Regions from separate parts of the Homo sapiens genome. Here region 2 is linked to region 1. Evidence: promoter capture Hi-C in 16 types of primary human blood cells and fetal thymus (Javierre and others, 2016). All regions are on one chromosome and are shown on one strand. The core of a region is centred on a gene start or on the middle of the fragment in contact, and the rest is flanking DNA. Distances in the headings are between cores, read along the strand shown. Region 1 holds the start of NEPRO-AS1 (NEPRO antisense RNA 1). Region 2 holds the start of SIDT1 (SID1 transmembrane family member 1).

Evidence for each region. The method cuts DNA at HindIII sites, captures the fragments that hold promoters and counts their contacts. A CHiCAGO score of 5 or more calls a contact.
Region 2: a contact is called between the fragment with the promoter of SIDT1 here and the fragment with the promoter of NEPRO-AS1 in region 1, in 1 of 17 cell types (activated CD4 T cells). The highest score is 5.1, in activated CD4 T cells.

Annotation. Positions count from the first base shown.
Region 1 is chr3:113,016,168-113,022,704 of GRCh38, forward strand. NEPRO-AS1 (NEPRO antisense RNA 1) reads left to right here and starts at 3,351. Exons shown (of 3, transcript NR_186663.1): 1 at 3,351-3,539. RMP64 (ribonuclease MRP subunit p64) reads right to left here and starts at 3,504. Exons shown (of 9, transcript NM_015412.4): 1 at 3,375-3,504; 2 at 1,281-1,435. The coding sequence starts at 3,480. RefSeq lists an enhancer at 2,953-3,022 and a silencer at 3,183-3,292. The HindIII fragment of the contact is 8,907 bases long and covers 2,341-6,537 here.
Region 2 is chr3:113,528,739-113,534,774 of GRCh38, forward strand. SIDT1 (SID1 transmembrane family member 1) reads left to right here and starts at 3,817. Exons shown (of 25, transcript NM_017699.3): 1 at 3,817-4,505. The coding sequence starts at 4,284. RefSeq lists enhancers at 3,209-3,428, 3,449-3,638, 3,779-4,108, 4,579-4,708 and a silencer at 4,379-4,428. The HindIII fragment of the contact is 7,487 bases long and covers 98-6,036 here.

The DNA.
Region 1 (6,537 bases), core at 2,101-4,600:
CTCGTAAGCCAAACTAAGAAGTTTGGTCTTTACTCAGGACACAATGGAGAACGACTAAAAATCAAAGTTGTGTTTTCAGATGATTAACCTGGTTTTAATATTTAGAATATGCCAGAACTTAGGAAAAGCTGAAGGAGGAAACATCAGTTATGATAGTAAGACAACTAAAAGTTGACAAGGTCTAAGAAAGGAAAATGGCAGCCAGAACTGAAGAGGGGACCAGATGCAGAGGAAGTTTTGTCTTATGGACTGCCTGGATGGGAGAGCTACGTAAGAGAGAGAGACTAGAGAATGCCAAATTTTGATGACGGGGTGATTATTCACAACCCAGAAGCTAGAAGGAGAAATATATTCACTTTGAGGGTTAGCAAGCTTGCTTTTGGATCAAAAAGACTCCGAAAAAGATAAAAGCCACCCTAGAATGGAAAATTTAGGGAAAGACCATGGTCCCAGATCTTTCTTTGATGAAATCTTCACCCTGTTTGCTTTAAGTACTAGGGGTAGAAAACTAACCAGAAAGCATGCATCTATAAGGTTAGAGACTGTGTCTACCTTTTTCACTCCTCTATACACAGCACTAAGCAGAATGCCTGGCACACAGAAAGTTCAAAAACACTTGCAAGGTAGCCCTGTCACACAATGGATAGCCTTCTGAACTTCCAGAAAATACTTGCAGAATTAAGTGAATGAATGAATGAGCATATCAGGAAGCCAGCTTAAGAGAGGCTCTACTCTATGGTATAGCCCCTGAGCTGGAGGGCCCAATTTTGTCTTAAGCTCCAAACATTACATGAAACCAGTTTACACCACAACTTGCTATGTACCCATTTACTCTAACATACCACCAATTAGATTATGTACCCCATAATAAGTAGACAAGTTTTTTTAAAAATAATTTTAGCATTCTGATTATGCCCAGGGAACTGTTTCTTAATGTCCAACATTTTGTCTTGCTCAAATCACTTTATCTTTGAGCTGGGCAAAGGCACTGTTGTTATAGATTGTATATAATGAAGAAAATGTTTACTTGCCTATTAGAAACAAGACTGGGAAAGAATCTAAACATACTTCTTTTCTAACAAAAATTACTTTTTGAAATGCTGAAATGCTTTTAGGAAAAAAAAAGAAAGTGCACATGTAACTGTGGGCTATAGGCCTATAAAACACAAGTAATTTACTGAGATTTCCACGAGATTTCCATAAATAGCAATATAGTAAGTGGCAGTGTGATCTACATTTTCAAGTGAACAGGTTGGGTCTCACCTACCGGGCTTCCTCACCTGTTTGAGGGCCAAATGGGGTTTGTGGCGGCCCATTCTGTTGTGATTGCTGTAAAGGACTGCACATAACACATCTGTTTCTGCATCTAAGGTTTGGCTCTTCAGCGACAGTATGACGAGATGGCATTCTTTAATTACAGCTGCAATGCAAAGGTCTGAAGCAGAGACATCTAATAAGATTTAGTATGTATTTCTACAGTAAGTATATTATATTAAAAACACACTAAAAAAAGCATCTTTCCTTATTTGTTTTAAAGGAATCAAAAACTAATGTAATCAGTCTCAACTGTAAGAACGTAAGGATTCTAAGTATAAGAGAAGTTGGAAAATGGTAACAGATGATATAAAGTCCAGGAAATCATTAAGAGAACATCTGTAAAACAAGAAGCTGTATCTTTGCATTGCATTTTATCATGGTTTAATAATCTTTCATATGAATACTTTGCTGTCAGTCATTTGGTGTACACTTACGCCTCATGTGTACACTTAACCCCCACCTTGAAGGTAGGGCACATGTCACAACATGTGTAATAACTCTCTAACTCCCCATGTCGCTATGCCCGAAAGCAAGACAGAATGAATAAATTCACAGTCTTCAAAATCAAGGCTTCTGTGTTTGGATATCACTTTATGAGAGACACAAACATATTCAGAAAAGAAAAACCACCACAGTAACTGGAAATCGTATTATTTGATGAACACCGGGTGCTCATCAGCAGATGCTTCCTAGTCTGAAAATCTGTAGAAGTCCCTAAGATGTAGTTCATGTGTTATTTATGGCTCTAAAGGCAGCACTAGCATTCTAAATGGAAGTAAAGGCTGGTTGCTACCTAACAAGAATTTTCTTACTGTCCCAACAACTACCTGAAGACAGAATGGGCTGCCTCGGGGATGGGTAGTGAGTTGGTGAATTTCCCAGGCCTAATAGGAGTTGTTAAAGAATTTTTGAATAGAGAAAGAGGGAAGATTAATCTGTAAAGTGTGTAGGAAGGATAGATGGGATAATCTGTAAAGTGTGTAGGATGGATATATGGGAAAGGGGATGTGATGATCTAAGTCAAGCTTGTCCAACCCGCCTTATTTTGTTGTTCTGTTCTGTTTTGTTTTAGGCTTTTTGCAGCTTAAAGCCATGGTTTTTAGTTTGTCTCTAGTGAAAAGAGGGATGAGGAAAGGGCTTTACCAGCCCAACCGGAAACAAAGAACCCATGACTGTATTCTCTCCCTTGGGCCCCGGAGCTACGTATTTAATATTCATAACAGCTTCCATTTGAGTGTTCATTTACCATGCCAGGCAGTGTTCCAAATGCTTTCTCTACATTATCAACTCTTTCATCCCCCCAAACAGCCCTATGAGGAAGGTGCTTTTATCTCCATTTGAAAGTGAGATCAGTGAGGCACAGAAAGGTTCAATGACTCCTTCAAGCTCCAGCAAAGGGTAGAGCTAGTATTCAAACCCAAACAACCTGGCTCCTGCGCCAGGCTCCTACCTACTATATGCCCTTCACCCTAACAAATACCACCCATTTAGGTGGCAAAACACCGTCGTTTACAGCGCACTGTCTCCTAAATTACATCATTAGATATTCCCAACGCCCCTGTGAGGAGTAGGAGGACTAACTCCATTTCACAGATAAGCAGATAGAGGTCCGAAAAGATTGCAGTTTGAGTCCCAGTGCTTAGGTGACGTCCACCGCTCCTCGGGTACAGGAAAAAGAAGGAAAGGGGAAATGGACGGAAGGGTAAACAAGACTCCGAAGACCCGGGTGAGCAAGGGTTCCCAGGCAGCACTGTTCCCCGGCACCAGCTGAGTCCACCTCTCTCCGCCCCCTCAGCGCACGGCTGAGCCTTGGTCTTTCATCTCTCCAGCCAAGCCCTGGGTTAGCACAGCTGGTTCAATGAAGGAATGCGAAGCCAGAGGCCCTACAAGCTACACCAGCAAAGTGCTGGGACCGCTCGACCCCTACGTGCCCCGCGCCCCTTCCCAGCGTCCCCCGGGCCGGGAAGTCCCGGTACCACCCCCGCCCACATGCGCCGGCTGGGCCTGGCGGCCTCCCCCGGAAACGTTCCCCCATCCTCGCCCGGCGCCTCACTCACCAAGGGCCGCGCCGGGGTTCTGCACTGTCACTGCGCTGCGGTTCCCCGCCTTAGGGATTCTCACACGGTTCCACGGCTCCAGGCCCGGCGGCACCGCAGCCATCATGCGAGGCGGGGGGACTTACGAAAGGCGGAGCTACGCGAGAGCACGTCCAGCGACCGGAGGTGGGGCGATGGGACCCAGTCCGGGCCGGAAGGGAGCAGGGGGTGGGGCTCGGGCGGGGCCAGGAGCCCGGCGGGAGGCTGCCTTCATCGAGTAAACGCGTGGGACTGGGAAGGACCCAGTCATCTGTATATTGGTTACCAACACGTGGCCGCGTAGAATCATGGGGGAAAAAAGGCCCCATCCCAATACTAACCAACAGAATCTCTGAGAATGCGATGAGGAATCTGCGTTTTGTTTAAACTTAGCGCAGGGGATTCGGAAGCACAACCAAGTTTGGAACTGTTAAATACTTCTAGGCATTTTACAAATATGGAAAATGAGGCCCAGAATTGAGTTGGTGCTTTTACCCCCAACTCTGCCTCAGACATTAGGGGAAAAAGGAAGAAATGAAATGAAGAGGTTTGTGCAAGGTGTGGAATTTGTAGCGAAGAAGCAGTGATTTGCTTTGAGTGGTAAAGGAAGGCTCCTTTATGTCTTGAACCACAGCAAAACCGAGATCACATCAAAGAAACTTGGAAGACACCTGTCAGTCATTCCCACTTTTGTCAGTCTCCAAGACAAGATCATATTCCAAGCTCTAGTGATCCTTACCTCATTAATATCTTTCTAATAATTCATTTATCCTCAGCCATGCTAATGCCCCCTTAAGTTCTTAACACTCCCACAGTAACGTATTAGAAAAACAGTGAGTTTTGGAAACAGACTGCCAAGGTTCTAGTTCTAGCTTTGCTGTTTACTAGCTCGGTGATCTCAGGAAATTTACTTACCTCCTCCTCCAGACCTTAGTATCCCTGTGGGTAAAATGAAGATGATAATAATAGTATCAATCTCACAGACTTGTAAAATGCCAAGGCACTCCTGGCATACAAACAATGAACATTTACCATAGTTAATATTGTTGATGTTATTACTACTATTTCATGCAAGCAGTCTTACTTTATTGAAACACTTTCCATGCTCTTTCTGTGCGCCTTTACACATCTACCTACTCTACCTGGGTCATCCTCGGAAACACAATCTCCTTTCCTCAGCTCTGGGGTCGTCACTTGGGGTAATTCTTCCTAAACACCCCGTCCTCACTCCATAACTTGATACAGAGGCCCCTTTAATGTGTTACCACAGTGCCCTATGTTGGCCTATGTATTAGTTTTCTATTGCTGCTGTAACCAATTACGACAAACCTAATGGCTTGAAATAAGTAGAAGTTATTTTACATTTCTGGAGGTCAGAAGTCCAAAATTAATTTCAATGGACTGAAGTTGGCAGGGCTGGTTCCTTCCGGAATCTCTAGGGAAGAATTCATTTCCTTTCCTTTTCCAGCTTCTAGAGGCTGCCTTCATTCCTTGGCTCATTTCACTATCCTCCACCTTCATTGTCAGCATGACATTTTTCAGTCTCCTCCTCTTCCTCTGTCTCTCTCACCCTCCTGCCTGCCTCCCTCTTAAAAACACCCTTGTGATTACATTGAGCCCATCAAGATAATCAGGATAGTCACTCCATCTCAGAATCTTTAACTTAATCACATCTGTTTTAGAACTCCAAATTCAGGCTCATGTACCCGATGGGCAGCTGATGCCAAATATTGAGATACTGGTGCTTGGAGACAGAGAAATATTTATTCGATTTGACCAAAGTTAGAGGGCAAGAGAGCAAGATCTCTCAGATCCACAGTAACAAAAAAGAAGCAGGGAGTTTTTATGGAGCTAGAGAGTAATGGAGAGGGAGTTTCAAGGAATCCAAGGGAAAAGTCTGTGTTTCTTCCATTTCAGGTAACACCTTGTGCAGCCGTATGTACATGGCAGCTGGTTGCAATGTCCTTCCAGGAATTCATTCCTTCTGCAAACTATTCTTATGACCCTGAAGTTATCTCCTTCTGCTTGACAAAGAAACAGTACATCAGCAGTTTATAATTACATTGTGGGAACAAGGAATACTGGGCAAAAAGCGAGTGGTTAACATGTACAAGCAAGCAAGGGCCTGTTCAAAATTTTCATTATTTCATGCACACACACACACACACACACACACAAAAATGCTGGGGTGCTGAAATCTCAAGCAGCTGAAATCTCAAGGTTATATAGCTACAAAATCCCTTCTCAGTGCAAGGTAACATATTTACAGATTATGGAAATTAGCATGTGAACATCTTTGGGTGGGAGGTGGAGGGATCTTTATTCAGCCTACCACAGCCTCTCTCACAGAATTTACCTCGCTTTATTGTATTTCTTTGTTTACTTTCATGTCTATTTCTCCAATGGCATATGAACCTACTGAAAGCGAGAACTACCATTGACATAGCTAACTGGTCTTTCTATCTCAATGCTTAGTTCAGAGCCTGGCATATAGTAGGGCCTCAGTAGATATTTACTGGCTGTATATGAGGTTGGATGATGCTTGAATAGAGTCTTTTGAAGGATGAATAGGAACTCCCCAGGCAGTTAAAGGAAAAAGGATATTCCTACAGAGAGGTTTTAAGCAGCATGGGTTTGAAGAATCACTAGTCCTGAGTTGGTACTGCTGGGACGTGATTTGTGCTGAGGGGTGGAGCTGGGAATAGTGGTGTCAGTCAGATCATGGGAAGAATTTGGCTTTTTACCTGAAGACCAGTAGTTCAGAAACCTGGCTGATTATCAAAATTGCCTGGATAACTTAAAAATAGAGATTTTCAGGTCCCACTTGAAAATTCTTACTCATTAGTTCTGAGTAGGTCTGTTTTGAAAAGGTCTTTGTGATGGTACTCTAGGTTGACGTGTCCTTGCTATAGGTGATAAAGGAGTCACTCACTGAGTCTTAGGCAGAGCAATTTTTGTCAGCTTGCCTCAGAAGAAGAGCACCCTGGAGAACAGATTTGGGAGAGAAGAGGTTGGAAGTAAGGAGACCAGGCCCATCTGTTCTATTACAAAAGCTAAGGCCAGAAATGATGCAGACCCAAACCTTCAAGCATTTCTACTGGATATAGACAGTATGACTTATTTAGATGTCTAGCATGGGTGGAGA
Region 2 (6,036 bases), core at 2,567-5,066, 510 kb after region 1:
AATAAGTATATATATATAGGAAAAAGGAGTTTTTCCTGTAGGAGTGGAAAAATCTGACTTAAATGGTCCCATAAGAGCTGGCAAAAGTTAAAAGTAAAGCTTGTGTACTTTGTATCTTGAGCCCCCAACCTTGAGGATGAGTTGCCTCTAAATGCACACCTGACAATGTGTCTCCCCAGGCAAGTATAACACCAGAGAGAATGCTCTTTCTGGATCAAAACCAAATTCTCAGAACAAAAATCTAGATGAGAGGATAATCTTATCTAGTTTTATTGGTAACCCACAGCAAAGTTTGTCCAAATGAATGCCAGTCAAATGAAAACTACATTGGTCTGGGAGGACAGCTCAAATTAAAGGCTTATAGGGCCTATGCCTGTGTTCTACTCTATGACAACACTTCCAGATTGCACAATGCAAAACAGAAGCAGAAAAGAGAGAAAACAGAGATGAAAAGGAATAGCCTGACTCCACCAAAGATGCCAATCAAATGGGAAGTGATAACAAATCCTAGGTACCAAAGTGAGACTAAATAGCCAAAGAACTCAAAATCAAAGAGCAGAGTTCAGAACCAGTGCTGACCCAATGTGTCAATGCAGACTCAACTGTGTGCAGTGAGGCACAAGAAGCCTTGGTGGGTACTGCACCTGGCAGAGAACTGGGATCCATGGTGACATGCAGTGCAGACAGTATCTCTGTGGAAACTTCAAGAAAACTACAGAAACAAGTGAAGCTCACACAAATGAAAACAAACAGAGGCTAATTATTCAGAGCTTGCTCTAGCAAGGGAGTTGACCACCATCACTTCTGCTTAGTAGAGACTCAAAGGCAGGAAGGGGAGTGAGAAAACTTCATAGTTATAAAAGGGGAAGGTTTCAGGTATGCTCTGACTGGATCTTGCTGTTGGAAGCTGGAGGCAGGCTAAGTAGGAGCAGGGCATTTTGTGGTTTGGGAAGCATATTTAACTTTCTCTGATTGATCCTAAGTTGGAAGCAGGGGCAAAAATTGGGGAAATTGACTCATTGAGCAAGACCTAATTCTTTTGGGCCATTTGCTGCAGCAGTTGTAGTTTGATTTCTTGGACTGGTTGCTGCTAAAGTGTTTTTGTTTCCTGAGCTGATTGCTGCAGAAACTGTGGGTCAGAGTTAGTTGTATTGCTATTTATGGTCTGGCCATTGCCCACTTGCATATTTAGTCTCTCACAGTAGAATCCTGACATTGTAGATATTAAAAAAAAAAAACTGCCTTTAAAATCAAAACAATTGAACTCATGGAGAAAGAGAGTAGAAGGATGGTTACCAGAGGCTGGGAAGGGTAGTGGGAGAGCTGGGGGAGGAAGGTGGGGATGGATAATGGATACCAAAAAATGGAATGAATAAGGTGTAGTATTTGATTGCACAACAGGCTATAGTCAATAATAATTTAATTGTAAATTTAAAAATCACTAAAAGAGTATAATTGGGTTGTTTGTAACATTATGGATAAATGCTTGAGGTGATGGATATCTCGTTTTCCATGATGTGATTATTATGCATTGCATGCCTGTATCAAAATATCTCATATACTCCATACATATATACACCTACTAAGTACCCACAAAAATTTAAAATAAAATTCCTTTTAAAAATAAAGAAAAAAACCACCTACCTAATGGACCACATTTTATTTTTTAGCTATTGAACTAGCAGTCACACCATAACAGTATTTGTTCATTCAACACTTTAAACTTTTTAATGTACTTTCAAATACATCATTCTCCCTTTTATCCTTACAACAACCTTGTGATCCTGAGAGGTTAATTACTTGAGGTCACTGAATGACTTTTGGCTAGAATAAGGATTAGATAATATTACAGAGTGACTTGTAATATATAACTCAAATTGTTAGGTATAGATAATCCATACAAATGGCTTTAAAATAAATATTTTGGGTTTCATGCTATGATGAAGGATCTGTTCCATTTGCTTCCAATTTAGTTGCGTAAAGTTGAGATAAAATCTTGAAGGAAGGGTCATAGCACCATTTAAATACCCACAGGTCTGTCATGTGGAAGAAGTATTAGGTTTATTCCTATGACTCCAGAGGGCAGAACTAGTACAAGTGAGTAGAAGACAGGCAGATTTCAACTAAGAATATGAAATGTCTTTCTAATAATGAGACACTTGCCCCCAAAAGAAGGTGTTGACTTGTGAAAGAACCAGTTCCTCATCTCTTATAGTGTTTAAAAAGAACGCCATAATAGAACTCCATAATCCTAGAGACTCCTTTAACTGGTCACACCAGCTAACCTCCAGGACCTTCGTAGATTTCAAGTTTATGAAATGTTGTTGAACTTTGAAAAGAGGCACAGATATTTTGAATACAACAGTTTAAAGTCATTCAAATTCTGGATGAAATTATTTCGTTATGCTCCTCAAAAACAGTGAGTTCTATTTGAAGTTTTACCCCCAGACTCTCCTTTGAATTAGTATTTTTGCCCATATACCCATATATTTTCAAGAAATTTCTTTCTTTCCTTCCTTCCTTCCTTCCTTCCTTTCTTCCTTCCTTCTTCCTTCCTTCCTTTCTTCCTTTTGAGATAGGGTCCTGCTCTGTCATCCAAGCTGGGGTGCAGTGGGGTGTTCACGGCTCATTGCAGCCTCGACCTCCCGGACTCAAGCAGTCCTCCCAACTCAACTCCCAAGTAGCTAGGACGACAGGCATGCACCACCACGCCCAGCTATTTTTGTATTTTTTGTAGAGATGGGGTTTCATCATGTTGCCCAGACTTGTCATGAACACATGGCCTCAAGCTAGCCCACCTCCCACTTCAGCCTCCCAAAGTGCTGGGATTACAGGCATGAGCCACTGCACCTGGCCAAGAACATTCAAAACTTTAAAACTGAAAATTGTCCTAATAAGGAGTCTACTAACTTAATCTTCCATCAGCATTGTTTTCTGATTTCACAGAAAACTTTACAACAAATGTATTGCATTCATTCTTGATGTTTTAAGAAATTAAAGGAATTAGACAAGGTAAAAACAAAAACAAATCTATCTCTTTAAAGATGGCAAGGACTAGGATTTTAATCTGTAATCTTAAATTTTTGAAAAAGATCTTTTCCTTCTTAATGACTTCTTTTTAAATGGTCCTTCAGGTTGAACACAATTACATTCTTTTATAGTATACAGTAATGAAGCTGAAATAAAACAGTGAGTTCTCTTCCACACGTAAATTGTGATTGTTCAATGTTCTGCAAGGTCTTCTGATGGCCCCATTCTCACCCTGCTCCTTACCTGCCTCTTTAACTCTTTAAATCTAATCCCCTAATTTTTATCAGAAAAGTATTTCCTTTTTACGATAGGCTGTGGTTTCTGCCTTTAAAAAAACAATCCTGGGGTTTCTCTCAGAATCTGGAAGAAGTCATTGCAATGGTAAAGTAGGTAAGAGGCTGGGGTGGAAAGAAATGCCTTCTGCATAAATCTAGTTAGTCTGAGTCGTTTTTTGACAACTTCCGGGACCAGACTTCAGGCAGTGCTGGAAATTGTTCTCTTTACCATATCTTTTTTTTTTTAACTGTACATATTTACATACATACACATATGGTGAGGGAGAGAACGTGATGACGTGAGACTCTCCATGGAGAGTAGGAGGTAATAAAGAAATAAAACAGGTGTCTGAGGAGAGGTTCTATTAGAGAGGGGAGAATAGAGAGTAATTATCGTTCAGACAGGCAAGAGTTCTCTGCAGGTAGCAGCCTGGGAAAGCGAACTCGCGCACCCTCTTGGGGGACGGGCTCTTTTGCTTTCTATTTCTTCTCCTGCAGCCAGGGTGCACACGTATTTGAAACAGACCGAATTTCCTCCTCGATGTGGCGTCAGGTTGACTTTTCGAGACTAGCGGGTATTTCTTTTTAATGACTCCAATGCCTTTTTATTATTGCTGTTATTGAGGTTGAGGGAGAAGAGATCGGTCTAAATTCTGGCTGGGTAAGTGGGGGGATTCTCGGCGATGAGAAACGGGGGACTTAGAAGCCGGAGGAAAATCAGCAGCCCCACATCTCCACTTCTCCAGTCCGCCCTACTCTCCACCCGTGACCTCCAGTGGAGACCCCAGGCGGCAGCATCAGTATTTGATCGGCCCTTCGTCAGCACGCTGCCAGCCCTGGCCGGCTGGGTTCGCCAGGCATCACCCGCTCGGCTCTGAAGCGGACGCCTGGCCCTGCACCGGGCTTTGGAAGGACCCTCTCTGCGCTCGCCCCCTCCCCAGGGTGGCTCCGCTTTCGAGCCCGGGCGCGGTGCCCACCATGCGCGGCTGCCTGCGGCTCGCGCTGCTCTGCGCGCTGCCCTGGCTCCTGCTGGCGGCGTCGCCCGGGCACCCGGCGAAATCCCCCAGGCAGCCCCCGGCACCGCGCCGCGACCCCTTCGACGCTGCCAGGGGCGCCGATTTCGATCATGTCTACAGCGGGGTGGTGAACCTCAGCACCGAGAACATCTACTCTTTCAACTACACCAGCCAGCCCGACCAGGTAAGACACTCGCTCCCCTCGCTCGACTCCTAGAACTTGCCAGATCTCAGAGCCCCGTCGCTGCTTTGGAGTCCCCTGGGAATTGACCTTGGGAGACTTCGGGGACCAGGGGACTTTCTTTCCCTTTCTCCTCCGAAGCAATCGCTGCCCTGCCCTAGCTGCCTCAACACGCCTCGGGGACAACTCTGCTTCGCCTCGCGCCTCTCCTGGCCTGGTCAAGGGCATTGCTGGGCTTTGCAGAGGCACCAGTTCCCCGCACCGTCTGCGGGTCCTGGGTCCCTGCTGGGTCTTTCTCCAGGAAAGTCCTGATTTCTAGGGTTGCGGGGTGTGGTGTGGAGTGCGAAGAAGAACCGCACCTCGGTTCCTAATCCCCTGCAGGGAAGAAACCTAATTTCAAGTGGCTGATTCAGCCAGACCCTTCTATTTCATAGCGCATGGGGAGGGAGAACTGCTCAGAATCTAAAATGGAAATTGTGTGAAAATGGACGGAAGCTGCAGAACCTCTGTGCATTCAACAGTCACTTCCTGCGTTTTTGTGCCATTGTCACACGTTGTGCTTCAGAGACGCCAGAAGACCTGGGCAAAGACGTGAGAACTGCAGCCATCAGCTGATCAATCCAGGTTTTGATTTTAAATAAGGATGGATAATTGTGTGAAAGTTCTAGACCTATTTTTGACAAAAGTTGAGGGAAGATAAGGAGGGAAAAATGTTCCAGTGACTATCCCTTTGACATATATACTCCGATTATATAACGTAAGAAGATGCATATAGTTCATTTCTTTCCTCTAGTGTGGTACCTCTGGAGCACTGGGCGGGGAGAGAGAGGGAGACAGAGAGAGAAAGAGAGAAAGAGAGACAGAGACAGAGACAGAGACTCCCCAGTGTACCAACCTCTGGATCTTCTTCCCATATAAATGTGTTTATGTATCCCTTACTATACCAGCATCCCCTACCCTCTAGGGAAATTCCAGAACTAGATGATTGGGATACCATGATATGCCTCCGTCTGATTCTCACTCCAGATCGGAACTAGAAAACCTCATCACTTCCCAAAGTGAGGGTGGTTTGTATTGAGCAGGGGGGACCAATGTGCCTAACACTGCTCCTAGACATCTTCCAGCTGTGTGTAGCCAGAAAGTGCCCTGAGTGCCCCATCTCCAGTGTGGCACCAAATCCTATGGCACTGTTACCATGGCAGCACAGCCCTCACCCTGCTCTGTCCTCCAGTAACCTTCAGGTTATATGTTCTGTAGTGAGCAGAGTGGCTGTATGCAGAGCCATTTCATGGTAGACAAGGGAGAGGCTGCAGTTTTTGTTTCCCAAACGCCATATACCCAGCCTCTTTCTATCTAGCGTGGGAGAACTCATCGACTGGTTGACATGTTGCACGTGAGGTGTGTTCCTAGTCCTGTGATTGGCTGGGAGCAGAAAAAAGTCTGAAAACTCCATGATCTCTGGAGTAAGTCTCAGCTTCCCCCTAAATCATTGGTAAGAAAACTCAAATTACATGTGCTAAGTAAATCCTGACAT